2 separate regions of the Homo sapiens genome follow, and region 1 is linked to region 2. The links are contacts of gene promoters, found by promoter capture Hi-C in human tissues and cell types (Jung and others, 2019). All regions are on one chromosome and are shown on one strand. Each heading gives the region's core, a stretch centred on a gene start or on the middle of the fragment in contact. The rest is flanking DNA. Distances are from core to core; before and after follow the strand shown.

Region 1 (7,115 bases), core at 2,276-4,775, 610 kb before region 2:
GTGGCTTTGCATGGAATTAGAGAGATGAGCATGCTTATTAGAAAGAAACAGCTAGGCCAGGCATGGTGGCTCACGCCTGTAATCCCAGCACTTTGGGAGGCCAAGGTGGGTGGATCACCTGAGATCAGGAGTTCGAGACCAGCCTGGCGAATGTGGTGAAACCCCATCTCTACTAAAATTTAACACAAAAATTAGCCGGGCATGGTGGCGGACACCTGTAATCCTAGTTACTCAGGGGGCTGAGGCAGGAGAATCACTTGAAACCGGGAGGCGGAGATTGCAGTGAGCTGAGATCGTGCCACTGCACTCCAGCCTGGGCGACAGAGCGAGACTCCATCTCAAAAAAAAAAAACAGAAAGAAAGAAACAGCTCTACTGGCCACACTTCCTCCTGGGTTCCTTCAAAATGGAAGTGGAAGAAAGTAAGGTTATTGCTAATCCATTCAGTCACTGAAAATGTGTGTTATATGATTTTCGAATCAATTACATAAGCTTCCCTTTAGAAAATTCAATTATATAATGTATCTTTTAGAAAAATTAAATCTATTGTTTTTACCATAGCAAAAGCAGAAATAGTCCTCAACTGTTTTTCTGAGTGTTTCAATTTCTACAGCATCTACACTCATCCGATTTGCCTGGGTTGTAGATTTCATTTTATGCATCTCTGCAGCTTTTTCTTCTTCTTCAACACCTGTAAAAAAAATAAAAAATAAAATAAAAAAATAATAATAAGGTCCATATCCATTACCTTAATATTTGGTTTTTAGTAAAAATCGTTTTCCTGTATCCTAACAGGGAAAACTACTTTTATCATGTATTCTAACAGGAAAAAACTATTTCTTAACCATTCTTTAACATTTATTAATCATTGTAACCAATGATTTGTTATTTTGTAACAAAATAGCAAGTCATTTGTGATTTGTTATAAAAGCAAAAAAGAGGACAAGCCCAAGGGCTCACGCCTGTAATTCCACCACCTTGTGAGGCTGAAGCAGGAGGATTGCTTGAGCCCAGGAGTTCAAGACCAGCTTTGGCAACATAACAAGGACACATCTCTGCAAAAAAATGAAAATAGCCAGGTATAGTGTTGTATGTCTGCAGTCCTAGCTGTCTGGGGGCTGAAGTGAGGGCTGCTTGAGTCTAGAAGTTTAAGGCTGCAGTGAGCTATGATGGGGCCGAGAACATACCACAGCACTCCAGCCTGGGTGATGGATAGAGACTGTGTCTCTTAAATTAAAAAAAAAAAAAAAAAAAAAAAAAAAGGCCAGGTGCGGTGGCTCACACCTGTAATCCCAGCACTTTGGGAGGCTGAGGCTGGCAGATGACAAGGTCAAGAGATTGAGAGCGTCCTGGTCAACATGATGAAACCACCGTCTCTACTAAAAATACAAAAATTAGGCCGGGCGCGGTGGCTCACGCCTGTAATCCCTGCACTTTGGGAGGCCGAGGCGGGTGGATCACGAGGTCAGGAGATCGAGACCATCCTGGCTAACACAGTGAAACTCCGTCTCTACTAAAAATACAAAAAATTCTCCGGGCGTGGTGGCGGGCGCCTGTGGTCCCAGCTACTCAGGAGGCTGGGGCAAGAGAATGGCGTGAGCCCGGGAGGTGGAGCTTGCAGCGAGCGGAAATTGCGCCACTGCACTCCAGCCTGGGCGACAGAGTGAGACTCCGTCTCAAACAAACAAACAAACAAACAAACAAAAAATACAAAAATTAGCTGGGCATGGTGGCACACACCTGTAGTCTCAGCTACTTGGGAGGCTGAGGCAGGAGAATTGCTTGAACCCGGGAGGTGGAGGGTGCAGTGAGCCAAGATTGCACCACTGCACTCCAGCCTGGCGACAGAGCAAGACTCCGTCTCAAAAAAATAAAAAATAAAAGGCAGGGAGATGGAGATTTAAAAGGGAACTTTTCAAATAAAAATCTAAAATACTTAGATGAATGAAAGTAATATGAAATGGTGACCATCTCTGAAATAAGTGTAGCTATAGCTAAAAATACTACATACCAGTACCCTTGTACTACTTTAAAAAAGAAAATTTGTATTGGTTACAAATTTAAATATGAGAAGATTATCGACACAAAAAAATTCTAGGCTTGCAAAGTCTAGCACGATAACAAATAGATACATGTGGCACTTGCAACTTGGCTGGTCCAAATTCAGATGTTTCATGAGTGTACAATACACACTGGATTTTGAAGACTTGGTACAAAAAAAGTATGACAAATATCCCATTAATAATTTTTTTTTTCTGGAGACGGAGTCTTGCTCTGTCACCAGGCTGGAGTGCAGTGGCACGATCGTGGCTCACTGCAATCTCCACCTCCCAGGTTCAAACGATTCTTCTGCCTCAGCCTCCCGAGTAGCTGGGATTACAGGTGCGCGCCACCACTCCCAGCTAATTTTTGTATTTTTAGTAGAGACAGGGTTTCACCATGTTGGCCACATGGTCTCGATCTCCTGACCTCGTGATCCGCCTGCCTCTGCCTCCCAAAGTGCTGGGATTACAGGCATGAGCCACCACACCCGGCCCATTAATAATTTTTAAATTGATTACATGTTGAAATATTTTAGATATAATAAGTTAAAGTATTACCAGTAAAATGAATTTCACTTGTTTTTCTTTATTTTTCTTTAATGTTCTAACTAGAAAGTTTTAAATTATGTGAGAGACTCACATGATACTTTTTTCTGCTGAACAACGCTTTTCTAAATCCCAGAAAAGCGCTCAGAATTCTCCTGAAGAATTTCTATGATTGCCTCATAAACCTATTGATTACCTTCCAGAAGACCATTATTGCTCCTTATCTGCAAAGTACTTTACACAAACAAGTAAGAGGTACTTGAGAATTAGGCCGGGTGCAGTGGCTCATGCCTGTAATCCCAGCACTTTGGGAGGCCAAGGAGGGCAGATCGCCTGAGGTCAGGAGTTTAAGATCAGTCTGGCCAACATGGTGAAACCCCACCTCTACTAAAAAATACAAAAAATTAGCCAGGCATGGTGGTGGGCGCCTGTAGTCCCAGCTACTTGGGAGGCGGAGGCAGAAGAATGGCGTGAACCCGGGAGGTGAAGCTTGCAGTGAGCTGAGATCGTGCCACTGCACTCTAGCCTGGGCGACAGAGCGAGACTCCGTCTCGAAAAAAAAAAAAAAAATTAGCCGAGTGTAGTGACACACGCCTGTAATCCCAGCTACTAGAAAGGCTGAGGCAGGAGACTTGCTTGAACCTGGGAGGCAGAAGTTGCAGTGAGCCAAGATCGCACCACTGCACTCCATGGGCGATAGTGAGACTCTGTCTCAAAAAAAAAGAGAAGAAGGAGAATTAGATACAGAAACCATTCTCCATGGATCAAATTATTAACAATGAGGCCAGTCACGGTGGCTCACGCCGGTAATCCTAGCACTTTGGGAGGCCAAGGTGGGTGGATCACTTGAGGTAAGGAGTTCGAGACCAGCCAGGCCAACAGGGCAAAACCCCATCTCTACTAAAAATACAAAAATTAGCCAGGTGTGCCTGTAATCCCAGCTACTCGGGAGGCTGAGACAGAAGAATCGCTTGAACCTGGGAGGCTGAGGTTGCAGTGAGCCAAGATCACGCCACTGCACTCCAGCCTGGGTGACAGGGCGAGACTCCTTAAAAAAAAAAAAAAAATTATTAGCAATAAAAACAAAGTATGAATACTGATGGACAGTGACTACAGCTTGCAGCTGAGGACAGCGCCCTTAATGCTTAGTTCTAACCAGTGGAGAACCACATAAGCCAGGCAGGACAGGGAAGGGGAGAATAAGTACAGCTGCAGGCGGGCTTATGGTATTGGTGGGGCAGACAGCAGCTGATACACACACAATCAAAACAGCATTATTAGTATAAAGAAACACAGAAACATAATCAATGCTTGAACATTTCTCAACATTATAATAATGTCAACATTTTAAAAATAAGTTACTAACATAAAGCTTAGAAGATTACAGCATGGGGGTAAGGGACAGGGGGAGGAATACAGTGGCAGGGGATAGTTTTTAAAACAAACTAAAAATACAATTGGGAATTAAAATTCGTGAATTAACAAAACTTTTTGTTCACTAATAAGTTGCTGAATGTATCACCAATTTAATCTAAACTGACATCAGAAGTTTAACTTTAGACCTTAGTGGCATACAAGCATCTGCAGGTTCATTTCCAAATCACCACAATAATACAAGTATAAAGTAAAGTCACACAGATGTTTTGGTTTCCCAATGCATATAAAAGTTACATTGACTCTTGCTTTCATGAAAGGTCTCTCTGTAGTGTGAGGCTATTTGGTAGCATTTCACCCACGGTAGAACTTGTTTCAAAATTGGAGTCAATCCTCCAAAACCCTGCCATTGCTTTATGAACTAAGTTTATGTCATACTCTAAATCCTTTGTTATCATTTCAACAGTGTTCATGGAGGTTGCAGTGAGCTGAGATCGCGCCATTGCACTCCAGCATGGGCAACAAGAGCAAAACTCTGTCTCAAAAAAAACTAAATAAAAAATAAAAATAAAATGGCAAGCATCTCCTTATACACCTCCATCAGGACTCTGTGAGTGACTGTGAGCAGTCATATTTTGAAAGCAATCTTTTTTTCTGAGCAGTAGGTCTCAAAAGTGGGCTTAAAATATTCGGTGAACAACACTATCAAGAGATGTGCTGTCATCCAGGCTTTATTGTTCTATCAATAGAGCACAGGCAGAGCAGATTTAGTGTAACTCTTCAGGACCCCAGGATTTTCAGAATGGTAAATGAACATGGCTTCAAAGTAACCAGCGGCGTTAACCCCTCACAAGGAATTCAGCTTGTCCTTTGAAGCTTTGAAGCCAGGAATGAACTTCTCTCTAGCTAGCAAAGTCCTAGAGAGTATCTTCCAATATAAGGCTGTTTTGTCTACGTTGAAAATCGGGTTTTGTGAGTGTAGCCATCTTCATGAATTACCTCAGCTAGATCTTCTAAAGAACTTGCTGCAGTTTCTACATCAAACACTTGCTGCTTTACCTTGCACTTTTATGTTATAGAGACTCTGTCTTTCCTTTTTTTTTCTTTTGAGACAGATCTCAAGAGTCCAGGCTGGAGTGCAATGGCGAGATCTCAGCTCACTGCAACCTCCGCCTCCTGGGCTCAAGCGATTCTCGTACCTCAGCCTCCAGAGCAGCTGGGACTACAGGTGCACGCCACCAGGCCTGGCTAATTTTTTGTATTTTAGAAGAGACGGGGTTTCACCAGGGTGCCTAGGGTGGTCTTGAACTCCTGAGCTCAGACGATCTGCCCACCTCAGCCTCCCAAAGTGCTGGGATTACAGGCGTGAGCCACCGCCCCCAGCTGACTGTGTCTTTCCTTAAACCTCATGAGCCAACCTCTGCTAGCTTCCAATTTTTCTTCTGCAGCTTCCTCACCCATCTCAGCCTTCACAGAATTGAAGAGAGTTAGGGCCTCACTCTGGATTACGCTGTGGCTTAAGGGAATGCTGTGGCTGGTTTGATCTTCTATCCACACCATTCAAACTTTCTTCCTATCAGCAATAAGCTGTTTTGCTTTATCATTTGCGTGTTCACTGGAGCAGCAGTTTTCATTTCCTTCGAGAACTTTTCCTACGCATTCTCCACCTGGCTACCTGTTCAGCCTAGCTTTCAGCCTACCTCAGCTGCTGACATGCCTTCCTCACTAAGCTTCATCATTTCTGCTTTTGATGTAAAGTGAGCAGCCTGCAAGTCTTCCTTTCACTTGAACACTCAGAGGCCACTATAGGTCTATTAATTGGCCTAATTTCCTTTTTTTTTCGTTGAGACGGAGTCTTGCTCTTTCGCCAGGCTGGAGTGCAGTGGTGCGATCTTGGCTCACTGCAACCTCCACCTCCCAGGTTCAAGTAATTCACCTGCCTCAGCCTCCCAAATAGCTGGGACTACAAGCACGCGCCACCACACCCAGCTAATTTTTTGTATTTTTAGTAGAGATGGTGTTTCACCATGTTGGCCAGGATGGTCTCGATCTCTTGACCTCGTGGTCCACACATCTCGGCCTCCCAAAGTGCTAGGATGACAGGCATGAGCCACCGTGCCTGGCCGGCCTAATTTCAATATTGTGTCTCAGGGACCAGGGAGGCCTGAGGAAAGGGAATGATGGGGGACCAGGCGATTGGTGAAGCAGTCAGAACACATATTTACCTATTAGGTTTGCCATATTATATGTGTGCGTTCGAGGACTCCCAGTACAATTACAATAGTAACATCAAAGATCACTGATCTCAATACCTTGAACCAAGGAGGCAGGGGATGCAGTGAGCCGAGATCGCACCACTGCACTCCAGCCAGGGTGACGGAGCAAACCTCCATCTCAAAAAAAAAAAAAAAAAAAAAAAAAAAATTCCACTACAGCGGATACAATAATCATGAAAAAGTCTCAAATAATGCTATGCCAAGAGTTACCAAAATGCAACACAGAGAACCAAGTAAGCACATGCTGCAGGAAAAATGGCACCAATAGACTTGACACAAGGTTGCCACAAATCTTCAATGTGTGAAAACTGCAGTGTCTGCAAGGCACAAAAAAAAAAAATGAGATATGCCCGGTCGGGCACAGTGGCTCATGCCTGTAATCCCAGCACTTTGGGAGGCCGAGGCGGGCAGATAACCTGAGGTCAGGAGTACGAGACCAGCCTGACCAACATGGAGAAACCCCATCTCTACTAAAAATACAAAACTAGCTGGGTGTGGTGGTGCATGCCTGTAATCCCAGCTACTCGGGAGGCTGAGGCAGGAGAATCACTTGAACCCAAGAGGCAGAGGTTGCGGTGAGCCGAGATCGCACCATTGCACTCTAGCCTGGGCAACAAGAGCAAAACTCCGTCTCAAAAAAACAAAAATGACAACAACAAAAAATGAGGTATGCCCATATATAATATGTGCCTATAGATACCCTAGCTTTTTTTGTTCCCTTTCCATGTTTTTAAGAAAATGCTGTATCAATCAGTTAACATAAAACCTACAGTGTTAGGTTAAACACAGATATGAAAATGGTCATACTGTGAAAGGCTGTGGGTATTAAAACCCTATAGTAAATTTCAACACTGTTCCAATGTCAAATAAGCTCACCA
Region 2 (7,076 bases), core at 4,108-6,607:
TCAGCGAGGCACTTGATTGCATGGAATCTCTGTTTCTCCCATGCAAACTGGGCACATACAGTCCCTCATAGAGTTATGATGAAGATTTAACAAATTAGCATGAAGAGTGCTCAATGCATGGTAGCCAATATGACAAATACTCACCAAAAACTGTCCCTTCTGCCTGAAATTCTCTCCATCCTCAGTCACTGTCCCAGGTCAGGTCCTATGAGCTCAGACCCTTGAGTTACTGGGACAGTCCCTTCCCTGCCTAGATACCACCACCGGCCCACTGGGATGGCATTCTTCAACAGCATGTCACCCCAGCCCCTCCCTGGCTTTCTGCCGACTCCCTTCTATTTTTTTTTTTTTTTTTTTTTGAGATGGAGTCTCGCTCTGTCTCCCAGGCTGGAGTGCAGTGACGTGATCTCAGCTCACTGCAGCCTCCGCCTCCCAGGTTCAAGTGATTCTCCTTCCTTAGCCTCCCGAGTAGCTTGGATTACAGTCATGTGCCACCATGCCTGGCTAATTTTTGAATATTTAGTAGAGACGGGGGTTTCACCACGTTGGCCAGGCTGGTCTCAAGCTCCTGGGGTCAAGTGATCTGCCTGCCTCGGCCTCCCAAAGTGCTGGGATTACGGGGATGAGCCACCACCCCCATCCTGACTTCTGAAACTCCTTATCTTGGCATTCAAGGCCCTTCACGAATCGGTCTCAACTTTGTTTCTTGTTGGATCCCTCAGCTTATTCTGTTCCTTCCAAGGGAACTGTTCCTGTTCCCTCAGCAGTCCGCACCATCCCACCGCTGTGCAGATGGTTTCCTCTGCCTGTTGAGAGCCCTCTTGCCCCCCGAAGGCCTCTTTCTGAGCACCTGATGCAGAATCCCAGGGCATGCTGTCTGTCTCCTTTCAGCCACACTGAGTGTGTTCATTTCACTCACTGGCTGTGTGACTTTCATCAAGAGAATTAACCTCTCTGTGTCCCAATTTTCTCTCTGGCAAAACAAAGACAGCACTAATATCTAACTATGCAAAGTACTTAGAACAGGGGTTGTCCCTTACTGAATGTTAGAAAACGTTAGACGTTATTCCTAAAAAAGAAAAAACAGGCTGGGCATGGTGGCTTATGCTTGTAATCCCAGCACTTTGGGAGGCTGAGTCAGAAGGATCGCTTGAACCAGTTGGAGCTGGAGGCTACAGTGGGCTATGATCTCACCACTGCACGCCAGCCTGGGTGACACAGCAAGACCCTGTGTAAAAAAAAAGAAAAGAAGAAACAAAAAAACAAACCGAGGCCAGGTGCAGTGGCTCATGCCTGTAATTCCAGCATTTTGGGAGGCTGAGGCGGGCAGATCACTTGAGGTCAGGAGTTCGAGACCAGCCTGGCCAACATGGCAAAACCCTATCTCTACTGAAAATACAAAACTTAGCCGGGCGTGGTGGTGCACACCTGTAATCCCAGCTACTTGGGAGGCTGAAGCAGGAGAATCGCTTGAACCTGGGAGGCGGAGGTTGCAGTGAGGAGGGATCGCGCCACTGCTCCCCAGCCTGGGCGACACAACAAGACTGTCTCAAAAAAACCAAAAACCAAAAAATAAACCAAGGCAGAAGCCTAAAATAAAGTCCTAGTGGTGGATGTCTTGACCCCTGCTGGGCATCCCAGAAGCTTCACCTTCTACCCTTTTATGGAGTTTTCTCCCCTGAACCTTGCTGTTTGGTGACTATGCCTGTAATTCTCTCCCACACCATTTGTTTTTCTTTCTTTCTTTTTTAAAAATTGAGACTGGGTCTCGCTCTATTGCCCAGGCTAGAGTGCAGTGGTGCGATCATAGCTCACTGCAGCCTCCACCTCCCAGGCTCAAGTAACCCTGCCACCTCAGCCTCTTGAGTAGCTGGGACTACAGGCATGCGCCACCACGCCCGGCTAATTTTTTGTATTTTCAGTGGAGACAGGGTGTTGCCATATTGCCCAGGCTTGTCTCGAACTCCTGAACTCAAGTGATCTGCCCACCTCAGCCCCAAAAAGTGATGGGATTATAGGTGTGAGCCACCACGCCCCACCTCCACTCTACTTTTCTACCCAGGAAATCTCACATCCTTTGAGACCCCTGCTCTGGCCCTGCTCTGGCTCAAGGCAGGTAGACCCCTGCTCCTGGCTTCTCAGGATGGTCCTACTGGGTGACCTTCAGGTCCTCATGTACTCTTTATCCTCCGCCACAACCCTGACCCTACTTTCTTCCTACCTGTGGGTGTGTGTCTGGACACTGGGGCTGGTGTGACTGGGTTATGCATGTTCGCAAGCAGCCTGGAAGACACTGAGGGTGGCCTGGTTTCCCTTAAGGCCTGGTTTGTCTTCCCTCCCTGCAAGAGCATGAACACCCAGAAGGCAGGAGGGACATTCCTTCCAACTCTTCCCCCTGTCTGGGTGCCAGCAGGGGGCTGAATTGCAGGCACTGGCTCAATTGGAGGTCTCTCCCATCCTCTCTAAGATTTAGATCTCAGAGATCTAGGATGACAACAGAGGCCAAGGCGTTAGCTCACGCCTGTAAGCCTAGCACTTTCGGAGGCCAAGGCAGGAGGATTGCTTGAGGTCACAAGTTCAAGACCAGCCTGGGTCTCAATAGTGAGACCCTGTCTTTACACAAAATTTAAAAAATTAGCTGAGCATTGTGGTGTATACCTATAATCCCAGCTACTCGGGAGGCTGAAGTAGGAGGATCACTTTAGCCCGGGAGATGGAGGTTGCAATGAGCCGAGATGGCACCACTGCACTCCAGCCTGGGCAACAGAGCAAGACCATTTCGAAAAAAGAAAAATACATAAAAGAAAATAAAATGAGGCCAGGAGCGGTGGTTTATGTCTGTCATCCCAGCACTTTGGGAGGCTGAGGTGGGAAGATCACTTGAGGTCAGAAGTTTCAGACCAGCCTGGCTAACATGGCAAAACCCGTCTCTACTAAAAATACAAAAATTAGCTGGGCGTGGTGGTGCACGCCTGTAATCCCAGCTACTCCAGAGGCTGACACAGGAGAACTGCGTGAGCCCAGGAGGAAGAGGTTGCAATGAGCCAAGATCGCACCACTGTACTCCAGCCTGGGTGACAGAGCGAGACTCCGTCTCAAAAAGAAAAAAAAATAGATAAATAAAATGACAACAGGAAGGCCTGTAGGGATTTTCTAGTCAAAACACCTCATGTCATAAATGGTAAATTAAGGCCACGAAGTCACAATAGGGGACGGCACCAGGAGGCATATCCCGGCCTCCCCCATTCCTTGACCAGCCTGTCCTCTCTGGCAGGCCTTGTTTAGGGCAACACAGGCCCTGGGCACCCCACCCTACCTGAAGCAGTCTGCGTGCCAGTCCGCGTTCAGGGCCTGGAGGTACTGGCCATCATAGATCCTCTGGCCGCAGCTTGCACACACGGGCAACTCGCTTCCTGCAGGGTGGGAAGGGAGTTGGGAAGCATTCTCAGGAAGTGTGATCTGGTGCAGGCCCAGCTTGCCCTGCCCACCCCACATATACCTACACCTGCACCAATCCTCGCACACTGCACATGTGCAGCGCCCAGGCAGGGCAGTCGCTGTGCCAAATAGGAGAAGAAAGGGCGCTGGCCTGAGTCTTGCTGAGATACTGACTAGGTTGCCAAGCTTCTCTGGCCCTGTTTCCCTATGTATCAGCTTAGGAGGAGGATCAGGTCCATCCTCCCGCTATAGCATTGGATCTGGCAAGGTAAATGAGGAGAAAGGAAGCAGTGGCTTTAGGGATAAGGCAGTGGGTGACATTCCTATCACAGCCTCCTTTCTTCCCTCTCCTGCCCAGGAAGAAGTACTAAGAGGGCCCTTCAAAGGCAGGGACTGGACAGGGCTGGATTAGTGCATCCTGGGCTGAAGCCAGCTGGGAGGTCAAGGGCAGGAAGCCTGGAGGTGCCGGCCCTAACAGATCCTTGGCAATGAATGCCCTGGCTTGGCAAGGGGAGGGGGCTGCAGACCTGGGTACTCCCAGACACCTGTCCCAGGGAGGCCTGGCACCTCCTCTAGCCAGCCACAGGCATGCTTAGTCATCCTTGGGGCCTGGCACCCTTGGAGCTGGTGGGCCCTGGAAAATGCCCCAGACCTGCCCCTCTCCACTGTACAGAAGGGGAGACTGAGCCCCAGAGATGGCATGGCTTGCCCAGTCACATAGCTAGGTCCCAAGGCCACAACAGCCTGACCCTCTGTGAAGACGCAGGTACCTTAGGTAGGCAGGGGCTACAGGAAGGTGGGCCCCTACCCCAATCAGGTTTTCATGGGCCTGGGAAGAGTTGGTGGCAGGGGGAGGTGTGGAGTCAGGCCCTGCCTTGGGGCCAGGTGGATCTAAGTGACAGGTCAGCGAAGGAGATCCAAGGAGGGGCCCCCAGACCCTGTCCTAGGCTGGGGGAGTCCTTGAACCCTAACTGCAGTGCAGTACTGCGCCTTGGGCCCCAGTGAGGGAGAAGGGGCTAAAGAGGAGGTTAGGATGAGTCATGCTCCCAGCCAAGACTGAGGGCAGGCACCGGGTTTGGGGCACGGACAGGGAGAGTGGATGAGGCTCCCGCAGTACACGGCCTCCGGCTTCCTGGACGCCTATCTCCGCTCTACCCATCTGGCCCCCAATCACCGACACCGGGGGGGCAACTACCCAGTTTCCAAATGTACAGAAGGGGAAACTGAGGACCAGGAAGTCAGCGCCTGGCTCAAGGTCACAGAGCCGGGCAGGCGCCCGGCGGCCACTGGGACCCGGGGCTGCGGCTTCCCCAGCCGCTCTTTCTTCCGAGACTGGATAAAGGGTGGCCCCAGGGCGAGGCCCGGGTGGTGGACAGAGCACGCGGATGGAGGCCGACGCGGGGTGGGCAGTGTCTGGGAGTCCTTCGCGGGGGGACGTGGGAGGAGGAAAAAGGGTCCAGGGGCCCCCAGACCCGCAGGAGGGCAGCTCGCCGGGGGCCGGGGAGGGGGATCCCGGGCGGGAGGGGGACAGGGAGGGGCCTGCGGGCTTCGTAAGGACGAGCTCATCCCGGAGGAGGCAGGGGCGCGGCCTCCTGGCAGACCCGGCCCCCTCCCGTGCCCCACGCTGCCCCGGGCACCCCCTCCAGGCCCTCGCCCCACACCCCGCGGCCCGCGCACCTTCCTCTCCCATACGTTCTTCCCTCCAGGTGCAACAAAGTAGCGTCAACCTCATGCACTCGACGGGGGGCGGGGCCCGGCGGGGCTGGGGCTGGGGGCGGCCGGGCCCGCGAGCTCGCCCACCGCCGCCGGCCCGGGGAGGCGGGGGCGGAGGGCGCGGGCCGGGCCGGGCCGGGCCGGGGGCGCCTCTCGGACACCGGCGGGGAAACCGGCTCGGCGCCGCGGCGGCTTGGGGAGCGAGCGGAGGGGCGGACCGAGGCGGGGCCTGTGAGCTGCGGCACGGGGGCGGGGCGCGGGCGGCCGGCGGCGGGAACGGCCCTGCGCGGCCCCGCCCCCACCAGAAAACCCCGCCCCCACGCCCAAGGCCACGCCTCTAGAGGCCACGCCCCGCTGCGGCCCGGCCTGGGGGCGCCGCGAGCTGGCGCGGCGCGCCCCGCCCCTCCCCGCCCCTTCCGCCCTTCATTCATTCTTCTTTCTCCCAGCGACAGGCCTCGGCTGGGAGCTGCGAGGCCCAGCTGTCTCGGAGGGCCGCTAGCTCTGCTGGGGCAGGCCAGGAGGATGTAGGAGCCTAGAGAAGGGGCCTCCGCTTCCCTGCGCGAGGCCCCCACAGACCCAAACCAGCTGCAGCCGGGAACTCGGATCAGAGCTGGAGAGGCCCTGTGGACCCCCAGGACACTGGTGGTCGCCTTGGGGAGGGGAGGGAGGCGGGCCGGGTTTTGTCCCTCTCTCTGAGGCCTGCATTGAGGCCAGGCTGGGCCCGGGGAAGGTGACGGTCCGCGTCTCAGGCCTCGCGAATGAGCAGCACCAGAGAAAGGAGCGAGCCCCTGCCAGGCGGTGACAGGTGTACTCTTCTCAGTGCCGATTACCTGGAGCTGGGGCTGCCCTGCCCAGGGTCCTGGAGGGAGCACGGGTTTGGGCTGAGTCAAGCGTCCAAAGGAATTGGGTGGTCCAGTCCAGCACTGATGGTGGAACGCCCTGCCTAGATGTGGACAATTCTAGAATGCTGGACATGGGCAGGAAGCAACCCTGTCCCCCCTAGGTCTACCTTCCACGTCATCCCTCTGCCCAGGAAGCAGTGACCGGAGTGGAGCCACGTGCCCACGTGAACCCAGTGAACAAGAGGCAGCGCTAGCCCAGCTCCAACTCTAGTCATCATGTTTGTGGGGAGAGGTCTAGGCACGTCTGCAAAGTGGGGGGCACTCACCCCTGGGTGCAAAACAATTACGTGGGGTGGGAAGAAAATACTAGATTTTTTTTTTCTTTTTTTAGATTCGGTCTCGCTCTGTTGCCTAGGCTGGAGTGCAGTGGCGGGATCTCGGCTCACCGCAGTCTCCACCTCCCAGGTTCAAGCAATTCTCCCACCTTAGCCTCCCGAGTAGCTGATATTACAGGCGTGCACCACCATGACCGACTAATTTTTGTATTTTTAGTAGAGATGAGGTTTCACCATGTTGACCAGGCTGGTCCTGAACTCCTGACCTCAGGTGATCCACCCTCCTCGGCTTCCCAAAGTGCTGGGATTACAGGTGTGAGCCACCACGCCTGGCCAGAATTTTTAATTTCTCATGAGAAAGAAGGCTGGGCACAGTGGCTCACACCTATAATCCCAGCACTTTGGGAGGCCAAGGTGGGAGCATCACGTGGGGCCAGGAATTGGAGATCAGCTTAAGCAATGAAGTGAAACCCTGTCTCTTCTAACTTTTTTTTTTTTTGAAATGGAGTTTCACTCTTGTTGCCCAGGCTGGAGTGCAATGGTGCGATCTCAGCTCACAGCAACCTCCACCTCCCGGGTTCAAGCCATTCTCCTGCCTCAGCCTCTGGAATAGCTGGGATTATAGGCATGCACCACCATACCTGGCTAATTTTGTATTTTTAATAGAGACGGGGTTTCTCCATGTTGGTCAGGCTGGTCTCGAATTCTGGACCTCAGGTGATCCACCCACCTTGGCCTCCCAAAGTGC

The links. The method cuts DNA at HindIII sites, captures the fragments that hold promoters and counts their contacts. A contact is called where the count stands out against the background at its distance.
Region 1: a fragment that was not itself captured here is called in contact with the fragment with the promoter of LIMK1 in region 2 in 2 of the 25 tissues and cell types used here (dorsolateral prefrontal cortex and spleen).

What each region holds. Positions count from the first base shown.
Region 1 is chr7:74,692,536-74,699,650 of GRCh38, reverse strand. It overlaps GTF2I (general transcription factor IIi), which reads right to left. Exons shown (of 35, transcript NM_032999.4): 4 at 556-690. The region is part of intron 3 of GTF2I-AS1 (GTF2I antisense RNA 1); the gene reads left to right. Among named protein-coding and RNA genes, the nearest start is that of GTF2I-AS1, 33 kb to the left of the region's middle. The HindIII fragment of the contact is 3,479 bases long and covers 1,786-5,264 here.
Region 2 is chr7:74,082,085-74,089,160 of GRCh38, reverse strand. It overlaps LIMK1 (LIM domain kinase 1), which reads right to left and starts at 5,357. Exons shown (of 16, transcript NM_002314.4): 1 at 5,116-5,357; 2 at 3,317-3,413. The coding sequence starts at 5,170. RefSeq lists enhancers at 2,835-3,432, 4,544-4,813, 5,300-5,978, 5,874-5,983, 5,979-6,657 and 1 more and silencers at 5,004-5,053, 5,164-5,213, 5,334-5,603. The HindIII fragment of the contact is 14,309 bases long and covers 2,635-7,076 here.